Linked DNA regions of Homo sapiens: regions 2 and 3 are each linked to region 1. The links are contacts of gene promoters, found by promoter capture Hi-C in human tissues and cell types (Jung and others, 2019). All regions are on one chromosome and are shown on one strand. The core of a region is centred on a gene start or on the middle of the fragment in contact, and the rest is flanking DNA. Distances in the headings are between cores, read along the strand shown.

Evidence for each region. The method cuts DNA at HindIII sites, captures the fragments that hold promoters and counts their contacts. A contact is called where the count stands out against the background at its distance.
Region 2: a contact is called between a fragment that was not itself captured here and the fragment with the promoter of RBP7 in region 1, in 2 of the 25 tissues and cell types used here (aorta and hippocampus).
Region 3: a fragment that was not itself captured here is called in contact with the fragment with the promoter of RBP7 in region 1 in 2 of the 25 tissues and cell types used here (aorta and dorsolateral prefrontal cortex).

What each region holds. Positions count from the first base shown.
Region 1 is chr1:9,995,564-9,999,017 of GRCh38, reverse strand. RBP7 (retinol binding protein 7) reads right to left here and starts at 1,790. Exons shown (of 4, transcript NM_052960.3): 1 at 1,687-1,790. The coding sequence starts at 1,759. LOC124903840 (basic salivary proline-rich protein 2-like) reads left to right here and starts at 929. Exons shown (of 2, transcript XM_047436754.1): 1 at 929-1,336; 2 at 2,166-2,299. The coding sequence starts at 988. The coding sequence ends at 2,299. It also overlaps a transcript of NMNAT1 not described here. RefSeq lists a silencer at 1-41. The HindIII fragment of the contact is 9,171 bases long and covers 1-3,454 here.
Region 2 is chr1:10,135,479-10,139,021 of GRCh38, reverse strand. UBE4B (ubiquitination factor E4B) reads right to left here. Exons shown (of 28, transcript NM_001105562.3): 17 at 1,817-1,955. Among named protein-coding and RNA genes, the nearest start is that of KIF1B, 73 kb to the left of the region's middle. The HindIII fragment of the contact is 4,742 bases long and covers 1-3,543 here.
Region 3 is chr1:10,180,305-10,184,180 of GRCh38, reverse strand. It overlaps UBE4B (ubiquitination factor E4B), which reads right to left. Exons shown (of 28, transcript NM_001105562.3): 28 at 2,942-3,876. Among named protein-coding and RNA genes, the nearest start is that of KIF1B, 28 kb to the left of the region's middle. The HindIII fragment of the contact is 5,206 bases long and covers 1-3,876 here.

The sequences.
Region 1 (3,454 bases), core at 541-3,040:
AACACATGAGAATTATGGGAACTACAACTCCCATGAGATTTGGGTGGGGACACAGCCAAACCATATCACTTGGCATTTGAGGAAATAACAGTAGCAGGAAGGTCCCCCTCAGACCTTCTTTTGCCCCTCTTCCCTGAAGCAGGCCATAAAAGAATTCTCTGCTCTTCCTCTGAAGAAGATCATAAGACTCTCAAGTGAGAGGTGCTTTTCCCATACCCAGAGGAACACTCTTATCTCTTGGGATATGAAAGAGCAAAATAAATGCCCCTTTATCAACTAAGATGGGCCCTAAGGTTAAGAAAACAAAAATTGGCCGGTGCGGTGCCTCACGCCTGTAATCCCAGCACTTTGGGAGGCCAAGGTGGGCAGATCACGAGGGCAGATGTTCGAGACCAGCCTGGCCAACATGGTGAAACCCCGTTTCTACTAAAAAATACAAAAATTAGCTGGGCGTGGTGGCGGGCGCCTATAGTCCCAGCTACTCGGAGAGGCTGAGGCAGGAAAATGGCGTGAACCCGGTAGGCGGAGCTTGCAGTGAGCCGAGATCGTACTACTGCACTCCAGCCTGGGCAACAGAGCGAGACTCCGTCTCAAAAAAAAAAAAAAAAAAGAAAGAAAGAAAGAAAGAAAAAAAGAAAACAAAAATTGCCCACGGGTCAAGGGTTCAGGGATTGGCCGGCACGGCAACTTCCCAGATTCCTAAAGCTACAAGAAAAACTACACTCGTGGCAGGGCGCGTGGCTCACACCTGTAATCCCAGCACTTTGGGAGGCCAAGGCGGGTGGATCACCTGAGGTCAGGAGTTGGACACCAGCCTGACCAATATAGTGAAACCCCTTCTCTACTAAAAGTACAAAATTAGCCGGACGTGGTGGCTGGCGCACGCGTGTAATCCCAGCTACTTGGAAGGCTGTGGCAGGAGAATCGCTTGAACCGAGGAGGCGGAGGTTGCAGTGAGTTGAGAGTCCGCGCACCGTTGGCACCGCGATGAGGGCGGGAAGCACAGCGCGGGGCCCCCGGGAGCAAGAACGCCGCGGGCACCCAGCCCTCGTGGGAGGCGGCGGTCGGGGCACGCCCCGGGCCGAACCAGGCTCTGCACTCCCGCGGGTGCCCGGACCTGAAGGGTCGTCCGCTGGCTCCAGGATTCTGCATCCCCGACCCGCTCCGGGTGCGCCGAGGCTGCTGGGACTTCGCTGCGGGAGCGCGCCCGGGGCCCCGGGGCCTGCACGGAAGGCGGCTGCGGGGAGGGTGGCCGGGCAGAGGCTTCGGTCCCGGGCGCCCCCTCCCCGGCCGGACCCCCCTCCCCGGCCGGACCCCGAGTCTGCAGTCTCCGCAGGTGTGCCGCGTGCGGGTAGAGACGGACGTGGGGCTGGACGCGGGCACTCAGGGACGGACGGGTGGGGGACCGACGGCCGGGGGAACAGAGGGCGTGGAGAGACGGCCGTGGGGACAGGGGGGCGGGTGGGCGCGGGAAAGGACGGACTGGGGGACTGAAGGACTGGGGTCCCGCGCCCGATGGACGGAGGCGCCAAGGACCAGCGGACTCGGGGGCGACTGGGCGACGGTGGGCGCAGCAGGGCGGAGGCACGGACAGAGGACGTACCTACAGGCCCGGCCCGGCCGCCTTCGCCTGATCCCGAGACCCACGGCGAGCCTCGCGCCGCCGCCGCCTCCCCTCCGCCTTACCTAGGGCCAGCATGTAGCCCTCGAAGTTGTCGCTGCTGAGCAGGGTCCAAGTACCGCTGAGGTCGGCGGGCATGGTCGGGGATCGCGGGACAAACCCGGCGGGCGGCCGGAGGCTCGGGCCGGGACCTATAAACCAGGCGGGGCGGGGCAGGGGGGTGGGGCCGCGCGCGGGAGGAGCAGGTGGGGCCGCGTGGGTCCCACTCACCCCTAGAAGCCGCTGCGCTCCCGGCCGCCTCAGCCCGGTGCTCCTGGCTCTGCCCACCGCGCGGCAGCTTCCCCCTTTCCTTGGGGCTTCCTCTCCTACTGCTTTCTCATGTCCCAGACTGTTTCGGGCCACATTTTCTTCCCTGCTTATATGTTAATGACCCAGGGATGATCTTCAAACTCATGGCATTGAATATTGTCAGCTTCAATAACAATATACCTCTCAACGTAACTCTCATGGTCTCAATAAATAGGAGTTTATTTTTCTTAACAAGGAGTCCTGAGAGAAGTGATTGCTGGTGATGATTCGCACCTAGGAATCACAGTGATTCGCACCTCGGTAACGCCGCAGCTTCGTCTCTGTGACTCTGGTGGCCTTTTATTCCTGCTTGTTACCTCCTGGTCATGAGCTGGCAGCTGGGTTCCCAGCCAGGACATCCACATTCAAGGTAGGGAAGAGGGAAAGCACCAAAGGTCAGTATCCCTGCAGCACAAACCTCCCCATCTCCTATAAGTCTGGATAGTTGGAAAAAAGAAAAGAAATTACCCAGCAGGTTTCTGTGTACATTTCATTAGCCAAAACTGTATCAATGCCACTTCTAACTGCAAGGGGGCCTGGGGATTCTAGTCTGCAGCATTTAGCCTCAGAGCAGAGAAAAGCAAAGGAGAAGGGGTGGGAATATGGGCTAACCTACAACATTAGCCACAAACACCGCCTAGATATGCTGGCTCCAAGACTGACTTATTGATTTTATTTTTATTTTTTTTCTTTTGAGACAGAGTCTCACTCTTTCTTTTTTCTTTTTTTTTTTTTTTTTGAGACGGAGTCTCGCTCTGTGCCCAGGCTGGAGTGCAGTGGAGAGATCTCGGCTCACTGCAAGCTCCGCCTCCGGGGTTCACGCCATTCTCCTGCCTCAGCCTCCCGAGTAGCTGGGACTACAGGCGCCCGCCAACACGCCCGGCTAACTTTTTATATTTTTATTAGAGACGGGGTTTCACCGTGTTAGCCAGGATGGTCTCGATCTCATGACCTTGTGATCCGCCCGCCTTGGCCTCCCAAAGTGCTGGGATTACAGGCCTGAGCCACTGCGCCCGGCAGAGAGGGAGTCTCACTCTATCGCCCCGGGCTGGAGGGCAGTGGTTCCATCTCGGCTCACTGCAACCTCCGCCTCCCAGGTTCAAGTGATTCTCCTGCCTCAGCCTCCCGAGTAGCTGGGATCACAGGTGCCCATCACCATGCCCAACTAATTTTTTGTATTTTTAGTGGAGATGGGGGTTTCATCATGTTGGCTAGGCTGGTCTTGAGCTCCTGACCTCGTGATTCGCCTGCCTCAGCCTCCCAAAGTGCTGGGATTATAGGTGTGAGCCACCGCACCCGCGGTATTTATTTTTTCATTTATTCTTTTTATTTTATTTTATTCTATTTTATTTTTTGAGACAGACTCTCACTCTGTCGCCTAGGCTGGAGTGCAATGGTGCAATCTTGGCTCACTGCAACCTCCGCCTCTTGGGTTCAAGCAACTCTCCTGCCTCAGCCTCCTGAGTAGCTGGGATTACAGGTACC
Region 2 (3,543 bases), core at 512-3,011, 140 kb before region 1:
AACAGATGCAAAAATCCTAAACAGAATATTAGCAAATTGTATATCCAATTAGATATAAAAACATTAATATAAAAGTTAAGTTTACTCCAGGAAAGAAAGACTGGTTTAATAACAGAAAACCAACTGATATAATTCAACCACATTAACAGAATAGAGAAGAAAAAAGTCTAGTCTCCTCAACAGATATGGCAAAAGTATTTAATAAAATTCAACCAGTGCTAAGGGAACTAACTATTGAAATAAAAGGAAATTTTCTTAATCTGGTAACTGAGGATATATAGAAAGCTTTCCTCCACCAACTGAAACAAGATGGAAATTTCAAGGTTATTTCTATTCAACATTGTACTAAAAATTACAGCCTGGGCACTAAGGCATGAAAAAAAAAGTAAAAGAAATAAAATTGTCATCATTTATAGACATGATTATGTGTAGAAAGTAAATCATAAAGAATTTGCAGAGTTAACTATTAGAATTAGTAAGTGATTTTAGGCCAGGCACGGTGGCTCACACCTGTAATCTCAGCACTTTGGGAGGCGGAGGCAGTCGGATCGCCTGAGGTCAGGAATTTGAGACCAGCCTGACCAACATGGAGAAACCCCGTCTCTACAAAAAATACAAAAAATTGGGCCAGGTGCATGGGCTCACGCCTGTAATTCCAGCACTTTGGGAGGCTGAGGCGGGCGGATCACGAGGTCAGGAGATCAAGACTATCCTGGCTAACACGGTGAAACCCCGTCTCTACTAAAAATACAAAAAATTAGCTGGGTGTGGTGGTGGGCGCCTGTAGTCCCAGCTACTCAGGAGACTGAGACAGGAGAATTGCTTGAACCCAGGCGGCAGAGATTACAGTGAGCCGAGATCATGCCATTGGACTCCAGCCTGGACTACAGAGTGAGACTCCATCAAAAAAAAAAAAAAAATTGGCCAGGCGTGGTGGTGCACATCTGTAATCCCAGCTACTCGGGAGGCTGAAGCAGGAGAATCGCTTGAACCTGGGAGGCAGAGGTTGCACCGAGCTGAGATCGTACCACTGCACTCCAGCCTGGGCAACAGAGCGAGACTCCGTCTCAAAAAAAAAAAAAAAAAAAAAAAAAAAAAAAGAATTAGTAAGTGATTTAAGCAAGGTAGATACAGAGATATAAATATGATTCAGTTTCTCTCATAGACAGACTACGCAGGTTCTAGACCAAAAAGCAGAAGTGGCATCATTATTATTCCAGATAACCTGCTCAAAAATATTTGCTTCTGTGTTCCTGTGACTTCTGTTTGTTGGTGTTAGTACACAGGAAAAAATGCTTAGAGTAAGAAACACAACCATGGTGCTAATGAATTGGAAATTTGAGGCTGCTATCTGGCCATTTTGGACCCCTCATGCCACAGAACAAGCCAAAAAGAGAATTACATGTAGGCAGGAGTAAATGATCCTGGTTATCAAGGGAAACCATGGTTACTTTTTCACAGTCCAGGGAAGAAGGGGTATGTCTGAAACCCAGGGGATCCTTTAAACTTTTAAAGTTTGAAGTGCCTCCTGGTAATGTATGCCCAGTGGGAAAAGTTAATGGAAGTCTGTAGTAACCATAAACAGAGTGAAATATCCAGGGTTCAGAACTCTCAGAAATCAAGGTTTGGATCACTTCACCAGGTAAAGAACTCTGGACAACTGAGCAACATGGATGTGGCGGTGGAGGCAGACAGAACACTATATAACGTACATACCTCCCCCAACATTCAAAACTACTGTTCACAATGGAATTGCCTGCCCCTGAGAAAAAGTGGTAACTCAGGCAATCCCAGGACACGGTATCATGGCACATACCTATTGAGCTCCCGGATAGCCCGGAGTCTGCGGATATAGCGACGGCAACTAGGCAGAATAGAGAGGTGGTGAGCATGCAGGGTGAGAAAGAAGCACTCCGTAGGGAATTTCGGCTCAGAAAATGGAGGCTGATCGCCATCTAGGAAAAATAACATCATTCCCTAAATAAAATCTATTACATGTCTCAATCAGAGAAAAAGCTGAATTCAGAAGAGAAAATTACATTTGAATTTTTATGAAGTTTAAAGATACTTTTTATTTGTTTATTTATTTATTTATTTATTTGAGATGGACTTTTGCTCTCGTCACCCAGGCAGAAGTGCAATGGCACGATCTTGGCTTACTGCAAATTCCGCCTCCCAGGTTCAAGTGATTCTCCTGCCTCAGCCTCCCTAGTAAGCTGGGATTACAGGCGTGTGCTACCACACCTGGCTACTTTTGCATTTTTAGGAGAGACGAGGTTTCACCATGTTGCTCAGACTGGTCTCGAACTCCTGACCTCAGGCAATCTACCCTCCTTGGCCTCCCAAAGTGCTGGGATTACAGGCGTGAGCCACCATGCCCCGCCAGAAGTTTAAGGATACTTTTGCAATTATAAACTTAAACAATACTACAAGAAGAAGAGAATTCCTGTTAGCTCCATTCAAGGACCACCGTATTCTGTCCTACCTCGTTAAATGTGCATACAGATGTCCATCACAATCTTTTTTTTTTTTTTTTTTTAAGAGGGTCTTACTCTGTCACCTAGTGTCACCTAGGCTGCAGTGCAGTGCAGTGGTAAGATCACAGATCACTGCAGCCTCAATTTCCTGGGCTCAGGCAATCCTCCTGCCTCAGTCTCCTGGGTGGCTGGGAACACAGGCATGTGCCACCATGCTGGGCTAATTTTTTTCTTTGTAGACATGGGGTTTCCTTATTTTGCCCAGGCTGGTCTTGAACTCCTGGGCTCAAGCTCTCCTCCCACCTCAGCTTCCAAAAGTGCTGGGATTATGGATGTGAGCCACCATTCCCAGCCCATCAACAATCTTTGGTGATGTTCCTTACTGATGTATTGTATAAAATCTCCATTTTTCAACACAATACAGAAATATTTAAATCTCGAAATGGTATTAAATTATGTTAATAAACTACTGATTCCAGAGCCGTTTCCCTGCATATTTCTTTTTTCTAATTTTTTTCTATTATAAATAATGTTACTACTGGGAGGATTTATGTAAACAAAATTATTCCTTTTTCCTCCAACTTTGGGAATATAACCTGAAAAGTAGAATTATTGAGAACAACAGTATTATATTTTTTGCTATGAATCACCAGAATTCACTTCAGATAGGTTAAATAAATTGATTAAATATCACCTACTTCTTCAAAAACTTACATTCTATTTTATCACTTTGGTTTTGGCTTTTTTATAGATATATTATGATAACTTGATTTTTTTTTTCAATTTGTATCTGTTTTTTTTTTTTTTTTGAGACAGAGTCTCACTCTGTTGCCCAGGCTGGAGTGCAGTGCCGTGATCATGGCTCACTGCAAGCTCAGCCTCCTGGGTTCACACAATTCTCCTGCCTCAGCCTCCTGAGTAGCTGGGATTACAGGTGCGTGCCACCACACCCGCTAATTTTTGTATTTTTAGTAGAGATGGGGTTTCACCATGGTGATCAGGCTGGTCATGAACTCCGGACCTTTTGATCTGCCCACCTCAGCCTCCCAAAGTGCTGGGATTACAG
Region 3 (3,876 bases), core at 1,173-3,672, 180 kb before region 1:
CATTTACTGTGATGAGGAGACTAAGAGGAGCGGGCGTGGGGTGAAATGTACAGAGTTCAGGTTGGGATATGTTAAGTCTGAGGACCTTTTAGTCATCTGAGATGGCCAGTGTGTACAGTACAGGAGAGAAGTGGAGGTTTGAGATATACATCTGGGGTCAACGTGAGTGGCTAGTAACGAATGAAAGCTGTGATATTGAAGTTATCTAATTGTTTAAAATGGGGGTTAGGTCTAGAGCTGATCTCAAGGCCAAAGTCCCTTCCAAAATGCTATGCTGCTTCTCCTTGGGCATTCTGAGCTATTCTGAACTTCTAGCATTCTGGAACTCTGCCATACAGCAGGAGTCGGGAAGAGATGAGGCTGGAAAGGCCAGATGGCCTAGATTCATGTGCCAGTTCCACTACATTATGGTTGTGGAGGGTTAAATTAATTAATATATGTGGCCGGGTGCGGTGGCTCTTGTCTGTAATCCCAGCACTTTGGGAGGCCAAGGCAGGTGGATCACGAGGTCAGGAGATCGAGACCACCCTGGCTAACACGGTGAAACCCTGTCTCTACTAAAAATACAAAAAATTAGCTGGGCATGGTGGCGGACACCTGTAGTCCCAGCTACTCGGGAGGCTGAGGCAGGAGAATGGCGTGAACTTGGGAGGCGGAGCTTGCAGTGAGCCGAGATCGCGCCACTGCACTCCAGCCTGGGCGACAGAGCGAGACTCTGTCTCAAAAAAAAAAAAAAAATTAATACATGTAAGAGTGGCTTGCACATAGAATATGCTCATGAAATGCAAATGATCATCACCAATTCAGAATGACTTTCTTCACCAACACTATCTGACACCAGCATCAAGCTCATAGGCTACTGTGTCTCCTTCAATCAAAAACGTACCTTGAGGCCTGGTGTGGTGGCTCATGCCTGTAATCCCAGCACTTCGGGAGGCTGAGGCAGGTGGATCACTTGAGGTCTGGAGTTCAAGACCAGCCTGGCCAACATGGTGAAACCCCATCTCTACTAAAAAAAAAAAAAAAAAAAAAAAAAAATTAGCTGGACATGGTGGCATGTGCTCTAGTCCCAGCTACTCGGGAGGCTAAGGCAGGAGAATCACTTGAACCTGGAAGGTGGAGGTTGCAATGAGCCAAAATTGCGCCACTGCACTCCAGCCTGGGTGACGGAGCGAGACTCCGTCTGAAAAAAACCAAAAAACAAAAAAAAGTACCTACTCAAATGAGGCCTATTCATGTCACTTTAGCACTCCAATCAAATTGCTGTGAAATTCACTACTCGATGTACCAAACCCAGAGGTTACAAAAAGTGAACGGTGTGCTCAGCTTTTTTTTCAAAAGATATTCAATCAATATCTTTTTAAAATCTACACAACACTGAGTCACAACACAAGGCAGATTTTAATCATCTTTCTCTCAAGGATCATTTCTCTTCTGCCAATCTGATTCTCTTATTTGACAATCTTCCTTTTAGCCAAGACCTACTTTTAATATATTTTGGGATTTATTTCAATATCCACAATTAAGAGACTGCAGACAAACACAAAACAGCAACTCTTGAGACTCTAAAAATGGAAACCCAAATCATCTTCCCCCTATAGATAGTACAGGCAGGAGACTGACTGTGTCTCTGTCCTATCCGGCAGGTCCTTGAAACCTCTGAATTATTCAAAACGACAAGTGCATATGGCGGTATAAAGCAGCATTTTATTACATTCACGGGGACAACTGGAGGATTAAAATAAGAGTTTGGAATCTGGGATGGAGAGGAGACAAGCAGTACACACTGGTCAGATAACCACACAAACAAAATTAGGCAAGATGCCAGTCAGTATCCTAATTCTACAGGCACTAAGCTTAGATATGTAAGTTTAGTAAAAAGTAAACCCAATTAAACAGAATCTTCTGCATGGTGAGAATATGGATTTTTTTTCTTTTTGCTTATATTGCCTAAAATTTTTGCTATCATGAACTTTTTCCTTATTTATTGTGTCTATCTATCTATCTATTTTTTGAGACGAAGTCTCACTCTTGTCCCCTAGGCTGGAGTGCGATGGCGCGATCTCAGCTCACTGCAACCTCCACCTCCTGGGTTCAAGCAATTCTCCTGCCTCGGCCCCCCGAGTAGCTGGGATTATAGGCACCCACCACCACGCCCAGCTAATTTTTGTATTTTCAGTTGAGATGGGGTTTCACCATGTTGGCCAGGCTGGTCTAGAACTCCTGACCTCAGACGATACACCTGCCTTGGCCTCCCAAAGTGCTGGGATTACAGGCGTGAGCCACCGCACCTGGCCATGTTATATATATATATATAAATATATATAAATAAATATATATGTAAATATATATAAATATATATTTTTTCTTTTTTGAGACGGAGTCTCGCTGTCACCCAGGCTGGAGTGTGATGACGTCATCTCGGCTCACTGCAACCTCCACCTCCCAGGTTCAAGCAATTCTCCTGTCTCAGCCTCCCGAGTAGCTGGGACTACAGGCGCTGCCACTACGCCCGGCTAATTTTTTGTATTTTTAGTAGAGATGGGGTTTCACCATGCTGGCCAGGCTGGTCTCGAATTCCTGACGTCAGGTGATCCATCCGCCTCAGCCTCCCAAAGTGCTGGGATTACAGGCGTGAGCCACCGGGCCCGGCCTGAGGAAGAATCTTGAAGGTCAGGGAAGATACTTGAGATAAAGCAGAAGAAACTCAAGAAAGGCAGAAGACTGAATATGACAAAGCTTACCCCCTCAAATCAGCAAACAGTGAAATGAGAACCAAATGTCGAGACTGACATGAATAAGAAAGTTTTCTTTTAAAAATAGCAGCTCCTAATTGGATCCAGGAAAGATCATTCACCACATGCAAACTCACTTGGCTCTTGTTTACCCACCCGCCCTGCCCTTTTTTTTTTTCCACAAAAGAGAAGAGACTCAAAGAAGATTTCTTCTGAACGTGTGTCACCATTTATTGTAGTTTGCGTTAGGAATTGAACAGAGGACATTGTCTGTGGAGGGAAAAAAGGAAAAGAAAAAAGAAAGTATGCTTTTTATAGACTTAATTTCTTCAGAACACTTTATGGTTTCAAATCCTTTTTTTTTTTTTACCCCAAAGGAAATTTGAGAATTCAAGTATGTTAAGTAGGGAGCAGTAATACAAAAAGTCTTATACTTGTGTGCGCGTGTGGCTGTGTTTGTCTGTGTGTGTTGAAACCGGCAGACATACTCCCACATTCTTGCACCCTCTTTTGCTTTGGTAAGGCCAAACACATCACACAAATGACCCTGCCTCAAACTCACACACCCAAGGGTTGAAGAATTGATTTACCCCCAGAGGATAACTGTGAAGGTTTCAAACTGTCACGTAGCATTAAAAAAAAAACCCAACCCTCATCTCCCCAAAATATAAGTCACATAAGTCCTGATACACTTACACCCCTAGATTTTGCTGCAGCTGCTCCTCAGATGCCGAAGAGAGGCTTATCACAAGGACCAGAGCAGCAGGATTTTCTTTATTTTGTTTAGAATAAAAAAATCTTAAAGGGACATTTCAAAAGAAAAAAAAAACTGAAATTCAAATTCTGAAAATATCTTGCCTTTTTTATTAATCATGTCATCTAACACCAATTAAAAAAACAAATATGTGAATATGATATAAAAATACGATCCCAGGATTAACACTTGGTAGCAGGCACAGTTATCTCACAGAATATATGTTTGGAGGGCCAGGGAAAGGAGTTTACTTTTGTTTTTGCTTCTCTTAAAAAAATCCACAGCAGTGCAAGTAGGGTCAGGAAGGGGGAGAGGGGAAAAAAGATTCTTTAGCAGCAAAATGTCCAAGGTTCTCTAATCACAATCAAATCAACGGATATTGGATTA